2 separate regions of the Homo sapiens genome follow, and region 1 is linked to region 2. Evidence: promoter capture Hi-C in 16 types of primary human blood cells and fetal thymus (Javierre and others, 2016). All regions are on one chromosome and are shown on one strand. The core of a region is centred on a gene start or on the middle of the fragment in contact, and the rest is flanking DNA. Distances in the headings are between cores, read along the strand shown.

Evidence for each region. Contacts are between HindIII fragments. The CHiCAGO score rates a contact against its expected background, and 5 or more counts as called.
Region 1: a fragment that was not itself captured here is called in contact with the fragment with the promoter of NPRL2 in region 2 in 2 of 17 cell types (erythroblasts and megakaryocytes); the score reaches 5.8 in erythroblasts.

What each region holds. Positions count from the first base shown.
Region 1 is chr3:50,580,289-50,584,328 of GRCh38, forward strand. HEMK1 (HemK methyltransferase 1, mitochondrial release factors N(5)-glutamine) reads left to right here. Exons shown (of 11, transcript NM_016173.5): 11 at 93-4,040. The coding sequence ends at 129. Among named protein-coding and RNA genes, the nearest start is that of HEMK1, 13 kb to the left of the region's middle. RefSeq lists enhancers at 1,504-2,005, 2,006-2,505, 3,862-4,040. The HindIII fragment of the contact is 8,059 bases long and covers 1-4,040 here.
Region 2 is chr3:50,348,617-50,352,398 of GRCh38, forward strand. It overlaps NPRL2 (NPR2 like, GATOR1 complex subunit), which reads right to left and starts at 2,159. Exons shown (of 11, transcript NM_006545.5): 1 at 1,959-2,159; 2 at 1,315-1,406; 3 at 1,049-1,217; 4 at 770-878; 5 at 258-394; 6 at 69-166. The coding sequence starts at 2,036. CYB561D2 (cytochrome b561 family member D2) reads left to right here and starts at 2,246. Exons shown (of 4, transcript NM_001291284.2): 1 at 2,246-2,368; 2 at 2,793-2,944; 3 at 3,393-3,430. The coding sequence starts at 2,818. It overlaps LOC127898564 (CYB561D2-LOC101928965), which reads left to right and starts at 2,246. Exons shown (of 5, transcript NR_183066.1): 1 at 2,246-2,368; 2 at 2,793-2,944. RefSeq lists an enhancer at 2,201-2,420. The HindIII fragment of the contact is 2,178 bases long and covers 2,149-3,782 here.

The DNA.
Region 1 (4,040 bases), core at 670-3,169, 230 kb after region 2:
CAGCCCTGGCTGTCAGGAGAGTGTGCTGTTCCCACTTCCTGTTCATTCCCTGAGGCCCAGGTGGTAACCAGCCCCTGTCCCTGTCTCCTCAGGCCCCGGTTCCTGCATATCCGGAGGTCTGGGCCATAGCATGGCTGCCCTGTGGATGCCTTGTCAGTGCCGCCAGCCTGACCAGAGGGGAGGTGGATGGCACTTTCCAGAGCCCAGGTTCTTATGGCATTTCCCAGGGTTCTGTGATTTCCCCATGCTCTGCATTTCTAGGATATTTCTAGGACACCTGGATTGGCTCCATCACATCAGAGTGGCTGAGGGCAGTTGCTCTGTGTTGGTGAAATTGCTGTGGGGGTATCGGGGGATATGGCCAGTAAAGTATTGAGAGACTAACAAATGGTGACCTAATGTTTTGTCCATGACTTGCAGGTCCCCTGACCCCCTTACTCCCAGGTAGCACTGGGGCAAGGGTTTCCTTCTGCCCCAGCAGGGCTGGCCGTCAGTCCCCTGCTTGGTAGTGGTGTGGGGGTGCAGTGTGGAGGAAGGCACGTGAGTCCTCACTCCTGGCCTTGGATACCATGGGTCCTGGCATAGAGCAGCTCACTCCCAGGGATTGATTAGTCCTCCACTGCCCTGGGTGCATGCGTACACAATTCCCTGGCCAAGCCTGGCTCGAGCACAGGAAGCTCATCTGCGTTTTGGCTCAAGGATGACTGCCTGCTTTCTGGAGGGGAGGGTCTGGAGGTCTTTGCTGCACAGTTCCTGGGTCGCACATCCACGTTCATTTAACTGAAGGCTTGAGCCAGTGAGGGGTGTTTCCTTTTTATCCCCATAGCTTTTAGCTAAAACATCCCTCCCGAGTTGACCCCCTGGGGTTTCAAATAACCCATGTGTCCCTGGTTGGGGCTGGGGAGAGTGAGAAGCTGAGATACTGGGCACAGGGTTGTGGCCTCCACCCCAGCTCTGGTCTGTGCAGACTCATGGCCACCAGGAGGCCTGCAGATCCAGCCTTCCTGTCAACAGCGACAGGAAATCTCTAGGTTGGTGAGTGCTGGTGATGTGAGCCTACATCAGGGTGGGTCCTAAGAAACATGGCAAACCAGGCTGTCTCATTCCACTAGACTGCCCCCTGCCACCCTGGCACTTCCCAGGGCCTGGCAGTATGGTCTGATGGGCAGTATGGTCCAATAGGCAGCATCCTCTGCTGCAGCTGGGAGAGCTGAGTTCCAGGGCTGTGTCCTGCAGTGGGACCTTGGGCAACTCCTTTCCCTATGAGAAGCTGGCTCTTCTGAGTCCAGGGCCAACGCCAACTGGCAACCTCTTTACTCTTAGTCAAGTGGAATGTGCATGCTGGCATCTGAATGTCCATTCGCCAGGCATGGAGAGCAAGAGAAGGTATGTACTGCCTGAGGTCACATGACAGTGACCAAGTGGAGACAGTAAGTTAGATCCCTCCCTTTGGGGAGCCTATATTGCTGGAGTCATACCCAGCCTAAGTGTTGCCCTGCACTATGGCTGGAGGACACATTTGGTAGAGGTCACACTGCAGCTCCCAGTGCCCCAGTGTCCTGCCCTGTGCCCAGCCCCAGCTGCATGGACTCTGAGCTGCCCCTGGCTTCCTTTAAGGAGGCTGCTCCAGAAGGAACCTGGGTGGGGAGGGCGAAGGGGGTGCACAACCAGGGCAAGGCTCCCCACTTCCTTAGTCCCCCATGCTCACAGACCTTTGCCTGCTAAGGTCCTCACCAGTATTGCCCTTTCTGTCTTTCTCCTTGTGCCCTTTGGCTCTTGCTGTCTTCAGCAGCATCTCAGGGTAGCTGCCCTGACCTCGGAGCAGTCTGTCGCCCCCCTACACCTCAGCCAGTCCTGGCTTCCCTGATGGTCTCTCCCTCCTGGCCTCAGGCCCATTCCTGAGGAAGGGCCTTGGCGAGCTTGTGGATGTTGCACCAGAAGAGAGTGCAGTGTTGGAGAGTGACACTGTCGGGGCAGCTGGGGCCACAAGCAGGAGCCGGCCTCGGGCACAACTTTCTGCCCAGAAAAATGTGCAGCTTGACTCTGCTGAGGAAAAGGTCCAAGCCAAGAGGACTGGCAGGCGGGGCCTCAAGCCTGCAGCCACTGGCTTGATTGGGCCCTGGACGTTGAGCCCAGATGTTGGAGCCACACCAGCCTGGATTTCAATCCCAGAATCTGCCCCTCACGAGGATGTGACCTTGGGCAGATGACTTCACCTCACTCAGCCTTGGCTTCTAAGGCTGAGAAATGGGACTTAATGCTTTATTTTATAGGATGCATGTGAGGAGCCCATGGGATGTGCCTGGCTTGGCACATTGTGGCATTTTTCCTTGCCTTCCTCGGAGGGCAGACACAGGGAGGAAGGACCCAGTGCCCTCAGGCGTCCATCTGATGCATGGGACCAACATAAGGCAGGCAGGGATACAAGGCAGTCTGGAAAGAAGGGAAGGCAGGAGTTTCAGTCTTGGGCTCTTGACTCCTCACTGTTGTCTAGAGATGGAGCCAGCAGGCTGGTAGCCTGGCAGCCTACATCTCCCCTCAGCCTCTCCTCACTATGGCCCCAGTGCCTTGAGGCCCAGGCCAGGGCAGCCAGTGGCTCTAGCTCAGGGAAAGCCAGGCCCACCTGCCCTATCCCCTCCCTTGCTCCTGAGGCCAAAGCCAGAGACTCGAACAGCCTCCCCACCACCACCAGCATATGTCAAGGAGCACTTGCAGGCAGAATGGGAGGAGGACATGGAGCTGATGGAGTCCAGGCTGTGCAAGCCCCTGAGGTCTTGAGAGATGTGCCCACTGCCCGTGCAGCCTCCTTCAGCCAGAGCCCAGAGCATAGACAGGAGTGTAGGAGTCCCTGTTTGATGTACTCTGGGAGAGTAATTCTATCTCCTCTTCTGATAGTTGGGGAAACTGAGGCCTTGTCTCACAGTTGGATGCTTTTCCCAGTTGTCAGTGGGTTTCTCCATGGGTCTCATACAGCTGCCTTATTGAAATAGGCCCCGAACCCCCTAAATGCAAAAAATACTCTTTTTTGCTCCTTTACCCCCACCTGGACCCTGGGCTATTGGCTGCTCCCAATCCTTGCCCCAAACACTTAGCTGGCTCCCCATGACTTAAGTGTGTTCTCTTGTGTCCTATGGAATCCAGTTCTGAAGAGGTGGGGGAGGACAACTGTGGGAAAAGCCCTGGGGGCCCCTCCCAAGGCCCCATCAGTGCTCTGAGTAGGCTGTCATCAGAACAAAGGGCTCCACTGCTGACAAGGTTTGAGAACTGCTGGCTTGAGGTGAGAACCCCTTTAACCTCTGCGGGACAGCATGTCTTTCCCTATCCACCTTCGATTCTTTTCTCTTTTTTTTCTTCATTGGCTCCTTCTTAGTGGATTCTCTTCTCTACTGCCCTGGGCTTCAGCCTTTGTGCAGTACTCTCGATGCCCTGAACACACACCTTCCCTTTGCCCAGGCGGTGCAAACAATCCACTTCTTCAAGCTCCAACACAAATGCTGCCTCCTTTAGGATGCCTGCTCTGTGCTCTCCCTGCCTCCCCTAGCCCATACCTCTGCTGGCACCTTCTGTACCATGCCTTCAGAAACCTTCTTATCCCCCTCATCTCTGGGGCCCCCTGTGGATCTGGCATACCCAAGTTCAGTAAATGTCTATCAGTAAGCTGATGGTACATGCATTTTCTAGAATAGAGCTGGGACTTCCCATGTGGCCCACATCTGACCTGGCAGCCCATGTATTCCGGTCATTAGGGATGGGAAGCCATGAGGACCTGGCCTTCTGCCCGACCCAGGCAGCCATTCAAGTTGAGCAATGGCCACTTCGAAGACTCAAGTGCACCTGATCCCTGCGCAACAGCCACACCAGGAGAACAGGCTGTCCTTGGCGGCAGTAGGAGCAGGCGCCAGGTTTCCTGGAGCTCTTGGCTTCAGCCAGCCCCCAGCCAGAGTCCTGGCTAGGACAGTGACCTGATCTCCTCCTCATGACCTTCTGCCCTGGACAAGCCCCCTGAACTGGATTTGGGACTGTCAAAGCAACTCTACCCC
Region 2 (3,782 bases), core at 909-3,408:
CACCCAGGGCCCCTGAGGTCTTCCCTGGCTGGTGACCTTGTCCCAGGTATGACTGTAGGCCCACTCACAGCAGGTTCTGGATAGCAATGCGCACCAGGTTGAGCTCCACATCTGCCTCTGCTGAAATCTTCTGGATGTGGCGGAACCCATCAATGTAGGGCAGGATCTGGGCAGAGTGGGACAAGGTCAGAAGAAACAGGATGAGGCCAGGGCTGTGGCCAGCCCCAGGTGATGATACCCAGGGAGGGATGGCATACTTGTTGTGTAGTGAGGTCCCACTGTGAGTTGAAGAAATCCTCCTTGTCTTTGGTAAAGACAGGTACATCATACTCCTGGGCCACCGGAGGGTCTGGCCGCTGCTCAATCACCTTCAAGTGGATGGTGTTGGACTCATCTGCAGGGGGCCCCATCCATATCCTCAGTGCCACTTCTTCCAAGAGGTCCTCAATTACCATCCAGGCCTCCCAGCATCCCTTGGGGCAAGCAGGTGCCTCTGGGTAGGGCTAATCTTTCTCTTTTTATGGAGTGAGAAACGGAGGCCCACAAAGGGGAAGGAATTGCCCAAGGGGCAGAGCTGGAGAGCTCTGCTTTCCCCCTACCCCCAGTCCCAGCTCCATCATGCATTGGACCCTGGACATGGGCACCTCAGCCCATGGCTATTTCCTGCCCACCAATGTGTTCATGAGTCTTGCCCTTCTCCCTGACTAGCTGGGTTCACTTTCCCATCTCTCCTCTACCCCTCTGCTGTCCTTGCAGAGGCTGGCCATACCAATGGGCAGAGTGCACCGGCCTGAGGCATTTAGCTCCTCCAGCAAGATGGTCATGATGGGCACCAACTTCTGCTTGCTCTCCTCCATGGACACGAAGCTGCTCTCTAGCTAGACAGAGCATGGAAAGCATGGTGGGCACATCCCAGGACCCCTGGCTGGTTGGCTGCCCTGAGTCCTGAGCTGGTTTGCAGGGTCCCAGGTTTGGGGGACTTTGGAGACATGGGAACACCTTCCCCAACTCTGCCTGTCGGTAAACCCAAGCCCATCTCATTGCAGACCTCTAGTGTGGTCAGATAGCCAGCCAGCTTTTTAACAATGGGCTCGAGGGCGCAGGTCTTGGCCTGGGCATCACACACGAAGCCCAGGTTGAAGAGGAGAGCATTGCGGCTGTACTTCTTGTGTTCGATGCACACAGGACAGCCGATCAGCTTCTTTTCCATAGCTGTGCTGGATAATTGGAACACAGTCAGGCCCCCAAGCCTGTCCCTTCCTCCTCCTGGGACAACCCCTGCCACCCACCGCTCACCCCGAGCTAGGGTCTCACACAGTGATAAGCTTGTTCTGCAGCTCTGGCTTGGTGATGATGTACACTTGGACTGTGTCAAACAGCTCTCGGGAGATGAAGTCTTCAGGGACCTGGGGAGGGGAGTGGCAATGGGCCCCTCAGTGGACATCTGTACTGGGTGTAGTACAAATGGTGACCTCCTCATGCCCCCCAAGCCCAAGTCCTCTTCTCCAGCGTTCCCCTCTCTCCCATCCACTCAGGCCTATTACTTCTTTCTGTTTCCAAACATACGCTATGATCTCACCTCCTTCCTGGCTTCTGCATATGCTGTTCCCTCTACCTGGAACACTTTCTCCTGCCTTACCTAAACTTCCTATGCATCATTTACTCTTCACTCAGTTCAGGGATACTCATGGGTCACCCAACTCACCTTCTGTGGGACCTGGAACCCCCCAACCGGATCCCTACAGCCCGATATCCTACAAACACTGCCAATGTGACGTATGTCTTCCCTGCCACATTGGGAGCCGGGGGCCTGGGTCTGACTATCCTCTAGCCTCACAGTTGTCTGCGAATGAAGCAGCATGCCTGCGTGCAGCACGGGAAACTACTGCCTTCAGGCAGCCAGTTGAGCTCTCGAGAACGTCCCTCTTCCCGCCCAGTCCCGCGAGCCCGGGTGGCACCTGATAGGTGATCTTGGGTCCCAGCGTGGGGTGGAACTCGCTGAAGAATATGCATTCGATGCGGCAGCCGCTGCCCATGGCAATAACCGGGCCCAGGCCCGTAGCTCCTCGTTCCTCGCGCAGAGGCGTCCCCACCTCCTGTGAACACTTGTCAGAGACAGCCTCGAGGCCTGTGTCGCTGGGGCACGCAAGCTTGCCAATCCCTCTGCCCAATGGCGCCTGCGCAGCGCGACTCAGAGGCGTGGCTGGGGCGGGGGACGGCTCGTCCCAGGAAGTCCTGGGTGGGTAGACGTCGCACCCGGAAGTAAAGCGGCTCCGTGACGGAGCGGCGGTGCGCGCGGCAGGGCCCGGAGTATCCCGCTTTCTTTGGAGGAAACCACCGCATCAGATCTGCGCTGCGGCAGAGGCAGGCAAGTCCCTAGCGTGGAGGGGCAGCATGCTGGCAGCACTTGGGGAGGCGGTGCGCTAAGGGATTCACGCTGTAACTGGGACCGCAGCAGGGAACTACAATTTCCATAGTGCTCCGCGCCCTCCCAGCTGGCTCTACTGCCGGCGACGGCGTGGTACACGCTGGGATTTGTAGTCTTACATGGCTTTGCGCCTCCTACCTGGAAGGCGGGCCAGCGATTGGTACCAGTTCAGACATGGGTACACGTTGACAGGCCGCCGGCCGTCGACTGGCATGTTGTGACCATTCCTGGTGCTGGTCTTGGTACTGTTCTTTCCTACCATAACTTATTGGAAGAGGGTGGCATTCCTGCCTTGCAGCCTTTTCTCCAGTGAGGAGTGAACAGTGGGCACCTGAGATCCTGGCCCACGCTACTATGCTTTCAGGCTACAACCACTAGCACGGCTGACGATGGCCCTTTCTGCGGAGACCGAGTCACACATCTACCGAGCTCTGCGTACTGCTTCTGGCGCTGCCGCCCACCTTGTGGCCCTGGGCTTTACCATCTTTGTGGCTGTGCTTGCCAGGCCTGGCTCCAGTAAGTAGAATTCATAGCTGACTTCTGGGAAGGGAAGGGCCACTGTTCCTGGGGAGGAAGGGCAGTGGGACTTCCGGGAACAGGCCTGGCTGGTTGAGGGAATTCTGTGCTGGAGCGATGAGTGAGGTGGAGCAGGTAGGTATGGCCAGGGCACACAGAATTCCTGGTTTGTCTTTCCTTCTCTGGGTGCTCCATTTGGCTGCCTCTCAGGAGGTGTAAGGGAAGGAGGGAGGACTGCCAGAGGAGTGGCAAAGCATGGCCTCTGATCCAGGAAGAGGCCAGGAAGAGAGGATAGGTGTGGGGTCAGCTTGTTGCAGAGCAAGAAGGGGCTCACAGTTTGGCAGCACCTCCTTGGGTGATGGGCTGCTGGTATTCCTCAACCCTTAAGGATTGGTATGGCTGGTTTCTTCTTGCCTCAGCCCCATGAGGCCTCCTCTTCTCATTCCAGGCCTGTTCTCCTGGCACCCGGTGCTTATGTCTTTGGCTGTAAGTAGTGGGCCTGGGCAGTTCTTAGGGGTGGGAGCATGGGCATGGTTGGTGGCCCTGGCAGCCTCTGAATCTTTGTCCACATTTAATATCTGTTTGGAAGAGTTGCATGCTCCAACTACTCCTGCCCATGGTATATATTTCAGACTTGAGGCTGGGCACGGTGGCTCATGCCTGTAATCCCAGCACTTAGAGGCCGAGGCGGGCACATCACCTGAGGTCAGGAGATCGAGACCATCTTGGCCAACATGGTGAAACCCCGTCTCTACTAAAAATACAAAAAATTAGCCGGGCATGGTGGCACGCGCCTGTAGTCCCAGCTACTCGGGAGGCTGAGGCAGGAGAATCGCAT